Linked DNA regions of Homo sapiens: region 1 is linked to region 2. The links are contacts of gene promoters, found by promoter capture Hi-C in human tissues and cell types (Jung and others, 2019). All regions are on one chromosome and are shown on one strand. Each heading gives the region's core, a stretch centred on a gene start or on the middle of the fragment in contact. The rest is flanking DNA. Distances are from core to core; before and after follow the strand shown.

Region 1 (7,186 bases), core at 2,972-5,471, 77 kb after region 2:
CCCACTTCACTTGGTCCTTTGGAGTGGGCCAAGACAATCAGCGTATCCCATCCTCCTGGCCACAGTGTTTGGTTTAGGGAAGGGGCATGTGACCCAAGCCAGACCAATCAGAAAGGACCTTGGGACTTTTGCAGGGAATGCCTGGCCCCAGACATGCTCCCCCAGTGTGTTCCACAGGAAGCATGTGGTCTCAGGAACTGTTAGATGTTCTCACAGGGAGTCCTGGATTCAGCCGTACCTGAAGCTGGACGGCTCCATGAGCTAACATATTTCTTGTTTGCCGAAGCCATGCTGGCTTATCCTCAGCCACTATTCAACAAAGCCTCTCCCATCCCACCAAATCACCAGCTCATTTGACATTGAGATTCCCTTCTCCTAAGTGCTGACTCCGGGATGGGAATTTCCACCTCCAGCCTGCTCCATCCTCCCAGCAGCAGCAAGGAGCAGGTTGTGGAGCACAGCCGGCCTAGCCCTTGCTGCCTGACATCGCCCCTCCCCTACTCAGGAGCTCCGTGTTCTCACCTTGCTATTAAGCATTGCCAGGAGCCAGCCTCCGCTCAGCTCTGGGCCCTGTGCATCAGGCTCGGAGCTGCATTAAATAAAGACTGCAGCCCTGAAACTGCTCAAATGGATCTACATCAACGAGAACAGCCAGGGGAGGCCTTTAAATAGATTATCACCAAGAGCCAGCCAGAGCAGGCAAAGTTTGCCTTAGGCATCATTCCCTACCTCCCAACCCTCCCCCTACCCCTTCCTGGGCCTCTCCTGCCCTTCCTCGGTCTGCTTTGAGCATGCCTCACCCCAGACCCTGTCATAAATTAGTTCACACATTCATGGCTTAATATGTTACTCCTCTAGTTTGAAAAGAACAGAATGCAGGAGTGGGCAGTGTTTAACCTAGGGATGAGCTCAGCAATAATGGAATTCTAGGGATCCTAAAACCATGACAGATCATGAAATACACGTTTGGAGACAGAGGAACATCTCCAGCCTCCCTCAAGCAACCACTGAGCCCCCACTGTCCCCAGAATTTCTTTCACTGACCACAAACACTAAGTCCTTTCCTTTCTTCTCAGAGGCTGTACCTCGAAGTCCAATCCGTGCATATTCCACTTCAGGTTTGTGCTCTCCCTCCTCAGGGAGGACAGGAGAAGGAAGGCGGGAGCCTGGGTTCTCTGGACAGGGGTCCCTCTGCCTCCTTAGGTGCCTGGGATCAGATTTTCTGCTTGGCCGGAGTGGAATTCATCACTGGCTGCGGGACCTTGAAGGGGAAGCTCCTGGGGGTGCTGATCCCCAGGAAGTGAGAGCTTTCCTGGCAATGCTGCAACAGACCTCACTGCATGGCCAGGGTCCTCCCACCCCCACCCATGGGGCCATTCTCCACACCCCAAAGGGCTACTGTCCCTGCCAAGTGTCAGGTTCTGCCCTAGGGGCCTCAGGTGCACTATCTCATTTAATCCTCAAAAGCAGACCAGGCTACGTGGCTCACACCCGGAATCCCAGAGCTTGGGGAGGCCGAGGTGGGAGGCTCGCCTGAGGCCAGGAGTTCAAGATCAGCCACATAGGGCAACCTAGGGAGAACCTGTCTCTACAAAAAATAATCCTCAAAAGTCACATACATGATCAGCACTATGATTATCTCCATTGTACAGATGGAAACACTGAGGGCCGGAGAGGTCAAGTAGTCTACCCTAGGTCACCCAGGCAGGGAGCAGCAGAGCCAGGACTCAAGCCCAGGGAAGCTGGCTCAGAACCCAAGACCTTGCCAGGTCCGCGCAAGGCCCCCTGCCAAGCCCTGTATTGATGGCCTGCTGCTGAAGCTTATCGCCTCCCACAGCCAGGTCCTGAGCGAGACAGAGCACGGTCTTGACTGTATCCTCTGTCATCACCACCCCATGGGGCGGGCCCATAAGCCCCAGTGAGCCCCACTCCACGGATGAGAACGCTGAGGGTAGGAGAAGAGACGTGACTGACCCAAGGCCACTTAGCAGGTGAACAGCCATGCTGAGATTTGAGCTCTGGTCCATCTGATTTCAATGCCCATGATTTGCCTTTTGGGGTCCAAGAGCTGCTGGGTGGTACGCCTACAAAGAACTTCTTCTTTGTAACTTTTTGTTTTGAAATTATTACAGATTCACAGGAACTTGCAAAAATAGTACAGAGAGGTGCCGTGTACCCTGCACTGGGTTTCTCCCAGTGGTTCTATCTTACATAACTCTAGTACAATACCAGACCAGGAAACCCACATTGGCACAGGGTATGCATACGGCTCTACGTCATTTTGTCACATGTGGAGATCATGAAGCCACCACAGCACTCAAGATCTAGACCTGTTCCATCCCCGTGAAGATGTCACACCCACCTCCACCCTCCACCAGCCCTAGCTCCCAGCAGCCACCAGCCTGCTTGCCATCTCTATAATTCTGCCGTGTGTGGAGTGTTATGCCCAGGAAATCATAGAATATGTTTTGAGACTGGCTGTTCTCACAAAGGTCTTATCCTTATCTTCAGCATGTATTGAGAGCCTACTGTGTATCAGGCACATATTTGTCCCTTTCAGGAATACAGCACATACAACTCCTTGATTGCAAATGACAGAACCCAACTCAGGCTCTGTTATAAAAGGCAATGTATTGGCATCGATTACTGAAAAGTCCAGAAGTGGAGCTGGCTTCAGGCCCAGCTGGATCCAGGGGCTTGTTAGGACTGCTCTTATTCTCCGTGCTTTGGCTCTGCTCTCCTCTCTGCTGGTTTTCCTCACAGGCGGGCTCTCACCACATGGCAGCCACCAGTAGCTCTAGCTCATAGCCTGCTCACTCTCACAGTGAGCAAGGAGCACCCCTTCCTTAGAAAAGTTCCAGCACGCTGGGCGTGGCAGAGTATGCCTGTAATCCCCGCACTTTGGGAGGCTGAGGCAGGAGGATCACTTGAGCCCAGGAGTTTGAGGCTGCAGGGAACTGTGGTTGCACCACTGCACTCCAGCCTGTGCAACAGAGTGAGACCCTGTCTCAAAAAAAATTTAAAAAAGGGGCTGGGTGTGGCGGCTCACGCTCGTAATCCCACCACTTTGGGAGGCCGAGGTGGGAGGATCACGAGGTCGGGAGTTTGAGACCAGCTTGGCCATCACAGTGGCCCATCCCCACTAAAAATACCAAAATTAGCTGGGCGTGGAGGCGGGCGCCTGTAATCCCAGCTACTTGGGAGGCTGAGGCAGGGGAATTATTTGAACCTGGGAGGTGGAGGTTGCAGTGAGTTGGGAACACGCCACTGCACTCCAGCCTGGGCGACAGAGCTGGACTCCGTCTCAAAAAAAAAAAAAAAAGAAAGAAAGAAAGAAAGAAAGAAAGGAAAAGGGAGTGGGGTGGCGGGCAATGGAGGGGAGGGGAGGGGAGGGGAGGGGAGGGGAGCTAAGTTCAGCAAAGGTTCTGGCCCTGACTAGCCCAGCTTGGCACCCACCTGACCCCAAGCCAAGCACTGAAGTGGGGGTGGGGCTGAGTTTGCAGTGCTTGGATTGTCTCATCTTTGGTCACATGTCTTCTCCTGTCAGCCCTTCCCAAATCTCAGGGATTGAGAAGGGGCTTAAGGAAAATTTGGGATGCTGTTGTCAGAGGAAGGGGTGCTATTCCAGGCTGGCCTGAGGGGTAGGTGATGGTATTGTACTACCTCAGTGCAACTGGTTTAATTTTCAAAATATGTGCAGGAAGTCAGGCTGGGAAAGGCTAAGTAACCTACCCAGATTCAGAGCTCTGGGTCCAGCCCTGCAGGGCCTCGGACCCCGGGCTTGTGACTCTTGTTTGCTCCCAGGCTGCCTCCCGCCCCCACACCCTTCTGAAATGCCCACACTCTTCCTACTTCCACGCTCAGATGCAGAATTGAAAGGCTCTGGCATCCAGCAGAGCTGGGTTCATACCCAGCCTTGATACCAGGCATCTCCGTTTCTGCCTCAGCCTGGCTGTGGCCTTTGTCTCTCTGAGTCTCTTTGGTTTCTTTGAGACTCGTCCAGTGGACCACCGGACCCTCCAAGGCCGCGGGGGAGGCCTCCAGTGGGGCTGTCCTTGAGGGGCCCCTCCTGGGATGCAGGCTGGCACCAAGCCGCTCACAGTCACATCCCCACGCGTGTGCCGGCTCTGGCACCCGCTCCACGCGTGGGCTGCCACGTGGCTCCGAAAGAGCCAGGAAGGAGACGGCCACCGTCCAACAGGGAGGACAGGCAGATGGAGAGGGTGACTCAGCACGGGGGCCAGATGTGGCCAGATGAGAAGAGTAAACACGAAGGCCAGACCTGCTGAGGCCCCCTCAGAGCTGGGCAGGGATGGTGGGGGCCGAGCGGTGACAGACGGACGGGAGATGGGGCTGGGGGAGATGGATGGCACCAGCAGGCTCAGCCGAGTGAGGAAAGCCAGACAGATGGTCTCGTTAAAGAAGCCAGCCCGCGTGAGGGAACAGGGCTCCGCGCAGGAGTGGGGGACAAGGCAGGCTCCTCCTTGAGAGGGGCTCCTCCGGCCTGGGCCATTCCACCTGTGCTGGGCCCTGTCCTCATTCTGTCTGGAGTGGCCACCAGGTGTGGGCAGGCCTTTCTCTTGGGTCTGTCTCAGGTGTCTTCACTGCTGGCTTAAAAGCCCAGGCACAGCAGGTGGGACGGGAAGCCCCATCCCAGGACAATCCCCCTCCATCCTTACTGCCGCCAACACGCTTTTCTGAGCTCCTGCCACCCAGACACGCATGGCTATTGAGCTGCATCACCCCCACGTTGCAGTTGCTGTCCCCTCCACTTGGAGCCGTCTCCCTCAGTCCCCAATCACCTCCTCCGAGAGGTCCTCCTTGACCGCCCCATCTGAAGCAGCTCCATCACTCCTGAGCCCAGGGCACCGCTGTGGTTCCTCCCAGCCTCACTGCCTTCTGCACGTGCCCCATTCATTTCCTCATCGGCTTCATCCCCCCGCTAAAACAGGTGATCCTCTGGGATAGGGGCTGGGTCTGTCTCATTCTCAGCTGTGTCCCAGGCCCCGGAACCTGGTAGGTGCTTGATAAATGTGTGTGGGCTGAATCTTCACAGCCCGGGCCTGCCCTGCCCTCCTCTCCCCGTCCCCGCTTGCTCTCCTTAGCGCGCTTCACTGCCTCCCACATCACGTACCCGGCTTCTTCACTCTCCCTCACTAGGATGGGAGCTTCAGGAAAGAAGCAGTTTTTGTCTGTATGTCCAGTGCTTTGTTAGTTCCATGAATGGTCCTGGGGTGGATACCGTCACCTGAGGAAGTGGAGGGGTGCAGGAAGGAGCCTGCCTTGCAGAGGACGAGGAAGGACCAGAGCAAGGCGCCTGTATGTTTCCAGACGGTGAGAGCCAGATCAGGGGACAGAATCGGGCTTGTCCCCAAGTCCTGCTACTCCATGGGCCCCCACTTGGCATTTTCCTCTGGGACCCTGCTTGTCCTGGCTGCCAGCAAAGGCACCTCGGGCCCAGAGCGGACCACCGTAGCCAGGGTGTTAGGCGAAGAGCGGCCCCCAAAGACACGCAAGTCCCAATTCCTGGCAAAGGGGACTTCGCATATGCGATTGAGAAGGGAGGGTTATCCTGGGTTATCTGGGTGGGCCCTAAATGTAATCACAAGTGTCCTTATAATCGGGAGGCAGGGGGAGATTTGACACCAGAAGTGGGAGCTGTGACAACAGAAGCAAGAGGTTGGAGTGATGTAAGGAAGTGGAATTCTGCCGAAGAATGCAGGCAGCTCCGGAAGCTACAGAAGTCCGGGAAATGGATCCTCCCTCCAACCTCCAGCAGGAGCCAACCTGCCAACACCTTGACTTTAGCCCAGTGACAATGATTTTGGACTTCTGGCTTCCAGAGCTGTAAGAGAATAAATTTGTGTTGTTTAAAAAGTCACCAAGATACCGAGTTTCAGCTCTGCAAGATGAAAGGTTCTGGGGATCTGTTGCACAATATGAAGATACTTAGCAGCACACTATACACTTACAAATGGCTGGCAGGGTACATTTCATGTTACATGGGCTTTTTTTAACCACAATATTTAAAAATGGAAAAAAAAAAAAGTCACCACACTTGTGGGAATTTGTGACAGCAGCCACAGGAAACGAATACAGCCAGACTGTAACTGACTGGCCCCGGGGAACCTGGGTCTCAGGCCCATCCTGGCCCCTTCCCTGGATGAGCCTTCTCCGTGCAGGCAGGGATGCCCCAGGAGACTAGGAACCACCTGACTGGCCACACACCTCCCTCGCTCCTGTCAACATCCTGAGAAGTGGTTTCTATGATGATCCCCAACCTCCCAACAAGGAAATGGGCTCAGAGAGGTGAGGTGACATGCCCAAGGTGACACACCAAATAGCAGAGCTGGAATTTGAACCATGAGTTCCTAACCCCGTTTCCTGCATCCTGAAGTCGGATTCAGCCCTCGTCTCATAGCTGCTGGCCCACAGGCGTTCAAATGCCCAAATACTGCTTTTCAGCAGCTTCTAAAAGAGCCACAGAATTGCCTTCTTTTTCTCTGTTTGTAACCAGGCAATCTCTTCCAGTTAATCATAGAGCAGAGAGTCTCATTCTGTCCCGGTACGCCCACAAGTAGATCTGAGATTGCATGGGAAAGTACAGAAAAATGAGTTAGCTCACGTTCTATGTACGGTCCTCTGAGGCCCTACAGCTGAGCCTGCGATGGTGGGTAGGCTGCAAACCAGTGGCCCGTGGGCCACGCCTCTCCTGCAGAGGGATTCTGCTTGGTCTGCGCTATATTGGTTGTATTTTTATCCTGTCTCCAACATTTAACACCAGAAGATTTCTTTTCAAAATCACAAGTCAGGACAACATTTACCTCTATTTCTGTGTAGGTCAGGACAGGCTGAGCTATGCTGCAGTAACAAGCACCTCCAAGTCACAGGAGCTTACCACGCAGGTCTTTATTTCTTATGAGCACCACATATTCAGTGCAGGTAGCCAGGGCACTCTGCTCCACACAGTCACTTAGGGAACCAGGCTGATGGAGGCACCACCATTTTTAAGTGGCATCTGAGACACATGACCTTGTCAGTTGCTGCTTCTGGGAAAGAAGAAACAGAAGAAGAGCACAGGGACATTGCACGGCTTCAGCATGTGACATCGCCTGACTTCTGCTCACTTGTCATTGACTGAAACTAGTCATGTGGCCCATCCACACCCCAAGGGCTGAGAAGTACA
Region 2 (6,882 bases), core at 2,225-4,724:
GAAGCGTGAGAGAGAAGGGAGAAGCAAGGGAGACGCTAAGGCTTCCAGCCCCAGGCTGGGAGAATAGGAGGAGGGGACGGCAGGGCCCTTGGGAGGAGGGGGCATTGGGAGAGGGGTGGCCTAGAACAGGAGGCCCCGCATGCATATGCGTGGACACACAGATTCCCAAGTGGCAGCTAGGCCCAGCACTAGAGCAGGGGAGCCCCACCCCAAGCTCAGGGCAGGCTCCTGCCTTGTGAAGCCTCGGAGCTCCAGCCTGCGGGTCTGGGCCCAGAGCAGCACTAGGCAGGAAGAAGGGTCGTGAGGACAGGGGCTCTCTGGCCCTTGGCTGAGGCCAAAGTTGGCTGCTCCTGGGAACGAGGGCCGTGACTTCTGGTGTGGGCTTGGTACCTGGATCAATGCCTATCCCTGGTTCCTGAGAGAAGCCCCCCCTCCCAACACAGGCAAGTGGGGAGCAGGCAGGCAGCAAGAGGACCAGCTCTCCCCTGGGAGGACCTAGGGGCCCCAAAGCCCAGGCCACCCCACCTGCAAGGCAGGGCGAGCAGGAACAGGGTATCTCCTAGCCCTGGAGGATTAAGACCCCCTCAGCCAGCTGCATTCTCCCAAGTGTCGGGGTGGACAGACGAGTCCTAGGTTAGCCCTAAGTATGGGGATGGGGTCTGAGAAGGAGGAGCCAGGCTAGATGGTTGGGGTCAGGTTGGGCAATGCAGCAATGCCAGAGCATGGCACCCCTCAGCCCCATCTTCAAGGGAGCCAGCTCCCAAGTCCCTCCTGCTCAAGACTGCAGAGGTCTGGGTGACAGGGAGACCACAGGGGCAGGGTGGGGGTTTGCATGCCAGCTGCGTGACGGGGTTTGAGAGGGAAAATCCTGTGAGACAGATGGGTGCTTGCGTGCGCGGGCACAGAGAGGGCCTGCAGGTGCGAGCATGCTGAAGGGACAGGCTTTTGTGTGATGTCCAGCAACAGAGGGTGGGCGCGTGGCCTGGGGAGCAAGCGGCTGCAGTCAGTCGCGCTGGCCCCCGGCGCCCCCTGCTGCCCGCTGGCCATCCCTCCCTCAGCGGCTCACAGACACATTTTTCACCGGAGGCTGTTGCAACGGAGGCAAAAGGCAGCGCGGGAGGAGCCCGGGTCACGGCAGGGCCAGCCTGCCTGGGCGTCCACATGTGCCCAGTGCCTGTGGGGCACAGGGGGAAGGGAGTCCCAAAGAAGTAGGGCCAGCCCCTCCCCACCCCATGGCCTTCAGCAGCTCCTCCCGCAGGCCCAGGGGCAGAGTTGATGCCTTGGGGCAGGCTCTGCGTCAGCCCCTGCAGCACCTGTGCCCACCTGCCGACTCCCTGGGCAACCTTGGGCCAGGCCTCAACAGATGCCCTGCCAACCAGGGATGCAGTTTCCCCACCCCCACAGCCTCCTGAGGAGTCCCTGTGGCAACCCCCCGCTCCAGGCCGCAGCACCCTGCTTCACCGGTACCTGTGCCCCCTTATCTGTACACGCTCACCTGTGCAACTGCACACAGCCGTCACACACGTGCGGCATGCTGGTCATCACACACGTTCATCAGGGCACACACATGCCAATGCTGCACACACCATGCCAACCCCCCTGGTTACCCGGGCACACATGTCAACCCACAGCCTTCACACGTGCTCACGTGGGCGACATGCAGCTATGACCACACAGCCCTCAAAAGCATCAACTCAGAAAACATTTCCAGGGTACCTACTGGGTGTCAGGCAACACCCCACCTGTGTGTGGGGCACTAATATCCCCACCTCATCATGGACAACAGTGCAACCTGCACCCGGGTGCTCATCTGCGGAGCTGCACACACGCCCCTAACACACACATGTGGCGGACACGGACACACACCCAACAGCAGTTCAGCCTCTCAGCTTGGTCAGGATTAGAAGGAGAGGCCCTGGGGAAGAAGAGGGGTGCTGATGGAGAAGGGAGATAGAAGGGGTGGGATGGAGTAGAGAGGGGTACTGAGGAGGCAGGATGGGGCGGGCGGTCAGGCAGTGGTGGGTGCAGGATGCGCTGCGCAGAGACACCCTTTAAGGAAACAGCCATCGGCCTCAATCATCAGGCTGGCTCCTGAGCTCCCACTCATTGATCTCTGATCAATCTGGTTTGGCAGCTCAGAAACCCCAGTGCTCCCTTCCAACACCCCTGTTATAAGCAGCGGCCTGGCCAGGCTGGGGAGTAACCGCCCAGGTTCTAGGGGCAGCAAGAATCGAGAATTGCCAGGGTAAGCCTCAAGCCCCCTTGACCACACAAATGGCACCCACCCCCCACCACCACAGACACATACGCTCAACTCAGCTAAGTGCATGGGGGGCAGAGATCAGGAGGCCCCCACAGCTCAGCCTAGGTGAAGGCTCAGGGACAGCAGACAAAGGATGCAGGGGAACTTCCTCCCCCCAAGCCCCTCCCAAGGGAATGAGGTGGGCTGAGGGCTGAGTTAGCAGTGGGTTAGGGTGACCAATGGGGCATGCAGGGGCCAAGAAAGGCTATGGAGTTTAAGGAAGAAGGGGAAACTGGCGGACCAACCACACACAACTCTGGCCCCCCGCACCAGGGAGGCCAGGAGCCACAGCCCCGGCCACCGGGACCGCGGCGCTTTGACTGTGCTGGCTGCAAGGACTGGGGGCTGGTGTATGCGCCTCCACGCCTGAGTGTGTGCGTGTGAGAGCGTGTGTGGCGGGGACAGAGGAGGACACTGTGTTCTGGACGTGGGCAGAGGCCAGGTGCCAAGCTGGGAGATTGTGAGTGGCTGTTTAGGGCAGATGCTACCGGGAAGAGGTATCTTAAACGTTCCCCGCACCCCCCATTTCCTGGGCACTGGGATAGGCTCAAAACCCTCTAATCTTCGAATCCTCAAAGTCAGGCTCCCTGGGGTTGATCCAAACCCCCAGCCCTGCTCCGGGCCCAGGCAACCAGCAAACTTCCCCCACCCGGAGGCGTGGGGTGTCTACACTCGCCAGCCCCGCGGGCTGACAGCTGCTCCTGGACTTGGCAGAACCCAGGCTTCCGGGAGAGCGCGCGGGGAAGCTGCGCAGCAGCAAGAAGAGCCCCCCGCGTCCCGCCTCGCAAAGTTTGGCCTCGGGGGGCTCCCAGCCGGGTCTGGCAGCGCTGGTCAGGGACCCCCAGAGCAGCGAGCGTTCGCGCGCACGGTCCCCCGCAAGCCTCCCCAGAGCGCGCGCGGCGTGACTCACCCGAGCCGCGGAGCCAAGCGGCGAGGACTATGCCCAGGAGCGCTGGCCACAGGCCGGGCCGGACGGCCATGGCCGCGGGCGGGCAGGCGGGCGGGCCGGGCGCGGGGCCCCGCGGGCGGGAGGGCGGCTTTAGCGCCTCAGCCCGGAGCCCCAGCTCGGGGCGCCCCCGGGGCCCATGCCAGCGGACTGCGCTGCCTCCGGGCGGCCGGCTGCCGGGCGCACGCGGCGCGTGGCTCCCTTGGGCACGGGAGCGCAGCAATGCAGCCGGGGCGGAGCGCAGCGCCAGCCGCGCCGCGCACCGAGCCAGCCGCGCCGCGGAGCCCGCAGCCGGAGAGCGGGCCGGTGGGCGCCGCAAAACCCGGACTGGAGCGACGGAGCGGGGCGGCGGCTGGGAGGGGCGGGGGAAGGAAGGAGGGGCCGGGCCGCCCCGCGCAGCGCGCGCGGGCCACCCCCAGCACCGGGAATCCCTCTGGGCGATGCCTGAGGCTCCCCCAGGGAGGGGCTTGGGGTGGTGGGCGTGGAGGCCTCCCACCGCCCCGCGGGGTCTCCAGGGACAGGGGCAGGAGTCTGAAACCCGGAGTGGATCGGTGCTCCGGATCCGGGCTCTCGCGGGCCCGCCAGTCTGCGCACAGGTGGCCCGGGAGGGGCCCGGGGCTGCGGCGACCCCGGCGCGGCGCCAGCCTGCGGAGAGCCGCCCAGGGCAGGGGTGCCCCGGGCAGGTTCCGCTGCAGTCCTCTCCCCCGCCCTTTCCTCGCGGCCGCGCTCCGGGGTCGTCCGGGCGCCGCGGTACGCTGCCAGCCCGCGGCTTGGTTAGGGGACTGCGGGAGAGCCCCGGGGCCCTGGCCCGCGCGCAGAGGTGCCCTGGCCACCAGAGCTGGCAGGCCAGACTCGGGGACACCCGCAGTCCCAGCCTCGCAGGCTGGTGGATTCCAGGGGCGCGCCTCACACCATGACCCAAGGTTTCCCTAACCCCTCGGCGCCGTTCGCCGAAGGAAAACAACCTTCAGGCGCAGCACACCCGACTGGGCGCGCGGTGTTTGAGCCCCGAGAGCGCACGGCGCCCGCGACGTGGGTGTAAAGGAACGAGCTGGGCTTTGGCAGCTAGGGAGACCGGGGGTAGGGTCCAGGCGACTTCACCTTCCAGCTCTGTGACCTTGGTCAAGTCACGTCGTCTCCTGGAGCCTCCAGCAGTGACCGCTGCTGGAGTCTCCTGTGCCCCACCCCCATTCCCTAATCGGGTTAAAATAAACAGAGGGCTGCCTTGAAGGAGAAAGGAAATGACAGCCGCGTGCGGTGTGCCTGGGGGGAGTGATCGGAAAAAGAGAGGGTCCTAGTCTGGGTCGGGAGGGGAATGAGCAGGGTGAGGGCAGGGTCGCAAACTCAAACGCCTACGGGGCCGGTCGATAATATAAATTGGCGCTGCAGGCTAGGCGATGTAAGGGATGGTCTTGCTTCCACAAAGAGATATGAGCTCTCCTATATTTCTTGAGACACGAGGCCCTCTCTCGGTCTGTCTTTTGTTTCCCACTTTTGATAGAGAAGGGTTATGAAAAATGTTTTGCTTTCCTCTTAAGTCTACTATAAAAAACACCAGCTAAAGCTCCAGAGGCAACCATACAGACGCTGGGCTCCATCGCCAGGGAGGCAAAGGGCAGTGCTGGGGACAGGCACAAGGATCCCATCTCAAGGGGCAGCTGCCTTTTCTGCTCCAGGTGCTGGTTGTCGGGGGAGGGGACCGGGGCACAGTATAGCCGCATCTTCCAAATTTTCAACAGAAGCCGTCGTATGTGAAATATTCTGATTTAAAATTTTTAACTAGTAAAAAATAATTTTTTAGACTTCATGTGAGCCCAGGGGAAAGTGTTCACCACCTTCTGGTTTGGGAACTTTGCTTTCGGGGCAGTTTGAATGTACACGGTGTCAGGGCCTGATCAACTCACATGTCTCGTGTGTGTGTGTGTGTGTGTGTGTGTGTGTGTGTGTAGGAGCAGTGTGTGCCCAGGCTGCTCCTGTTGGCACCATAACACCCCTCTTCAGCCTCTGCAGGAAAGAGGTGGGTGGGAGAGGAGAGTCAGTGGCAGGATCTGCCCTTGGGGCCCACTGGGGATTGGGCACTGGAGGCTGGTGGCTGAGGATGAAGGAAGAGGATTGAGGGCTGGGGTATAAGATGACATTATAATAGTGTATGCTCTGTCTAAAGGGATGGCCGGGTGTGGTGGGTCACACCGTAATCCCAGCACTTTGGGAGGCTGAGGTGGGTGGATCGCTTGAGGTCAGGGGTTTGAGACCAGCCTGGCCAACATGGCGAAACACCATCTCTACTAAAAATACACACACACACACACACACACACACACACACACACACACACAGCCAGATGTGGTGGTGGGCACCTGTAATCCCAGATACTCAGGAGGCTGAGCCAGGGAGAATTGCTTTAACCTGGGAGGCGGACGTTGCAGTGAGCCAAGATCATGCCACTGCACTCCAGCCTGGGCGACAAAGCAAGACTCCGTCTCAAAAAAAAAAAAAAAAAAAGTATGCTGGACACCACTATGTCCTTGCATACATTTATAATTTGGCTTGATCCTCACATGCAGTCCTGTTAAAGAAACATTATTATTCCCATTATGCAGATGCAGTAGCTGAGGCGTAGGGAGAGGAAGTGCCTGATTGCTCAGGGCCAACCTTATCCAATAGACTGCAGGGTTAGCTAAGATGCATCCTTGGGAGGTTTGGTTTCAACGTCCGTGTCCTCATCTTTTCTCCTGCTACAGTTTCTACTCTGGGATTTGAATTTGGGAAATGAGGTTTGAGATACAGGAAAGGAAGGGTCTTTTCTGCTCAGTTGGCTGCTTTGTTCACTTCTCTTCTTGCCCCTCTCTCTTCAGCCAGAATGGAATGGTCTATGTAAGAGTCAGGATAGATTAGGGGATGTCGTAACAAATAGTCCCCAAATCTCAGTGACTTAAATCAACAAAGGTTTGTTTCTCATTTGTCCATCATGGGTCTATGACTCCAGGTCACCCTCACTTGAGGACCCAGCCTGACAGCAGCCATTCCAGAGGTGCACCCACCAGCCATCAATCGCTCAGCCCAGACACAATGGATCATGTCTGGTCACAATCCATTGGCCAGAACTGGCCCCACAGTCCCACCCAAGAGGGCCAGGAAGTATAATCCCACCTCGTGCCTGGAAGGCAGAGCTGAAATATGTGGAGAGTAGCATGAGTGCCTGCACAGCCTGTGGTCCCAGCAGAATCTGGCCCCTGCCTTCCTCTTCAACTCTGCCTAGGCCCTAGCCATAAGGCCCCTCAACCCCTCACTTTGTTTCTCCAGCATCCAAGCTCATCCCACCTCCAGGCCTTCCCATTTGCCTTTCTTCCTAGAATACTCTGTCCCCAGATCTTCACGTGGCTGGTTCCTTTTAGTCACCCGGGCCTCAGCTGAACTGTTCCCTTCCAAGTGATGCTCAGAGTCATGTCAGGAGAAGGAGGAGGGGTGCCCTTGTAGAGAGGGGGAGTAGGTGTCTCACTGGAACTCTTCTTAAGAATCCAGGGTGAAGGGCTGCCAGGAAAGGGTTTGTCTCAGACCCTAAGGTAGGATGGCCAGATGGGAAGAGGACTCCTGAGAGCTCCAGCCTCCTTTGCTTCTGTTACTCAGGCAAATT

The links. Contacts are between HindIII fragments. The study calls those that stand out against the background at their distance.
Region 1: a fragment that was not itself captured here is called in contact with the fragment with the promoter of UNC5A in region 2 in 2 of the 25 tissues and cell types used here (dorsolateral prefrontal cortex and spleen).

What each region holds. Positions count from the first base shown.
Region 1 is chr5:176,730,708-176,737,893 of GRCh38, reverse strand. No RefSeq gene overlaps it. Among named protein-coding and RNA genes, the nearest start is that of LINC01574, 8.9 kb to the left of the region's middle. RefSeq lists enhancers at 3,675-4,604, 4,605-5,535. The HindIII fragment of the contact is 7,840 bases long and covers 302-7,186 here.
Region 2 is chr5:176,807,151-176,814,032 of GRCh38, reverse strand. UNC5A (unc-5 netrin receptor A) reads right to left here and starts at 3,474. Exons shown (of 15, transcript NM_133369.3): 1 at 3,213-3,474. The coding sequence starts at 3,282. The HindIII fragment of the contact is 11,668 bases long and covers 1-6,882 here.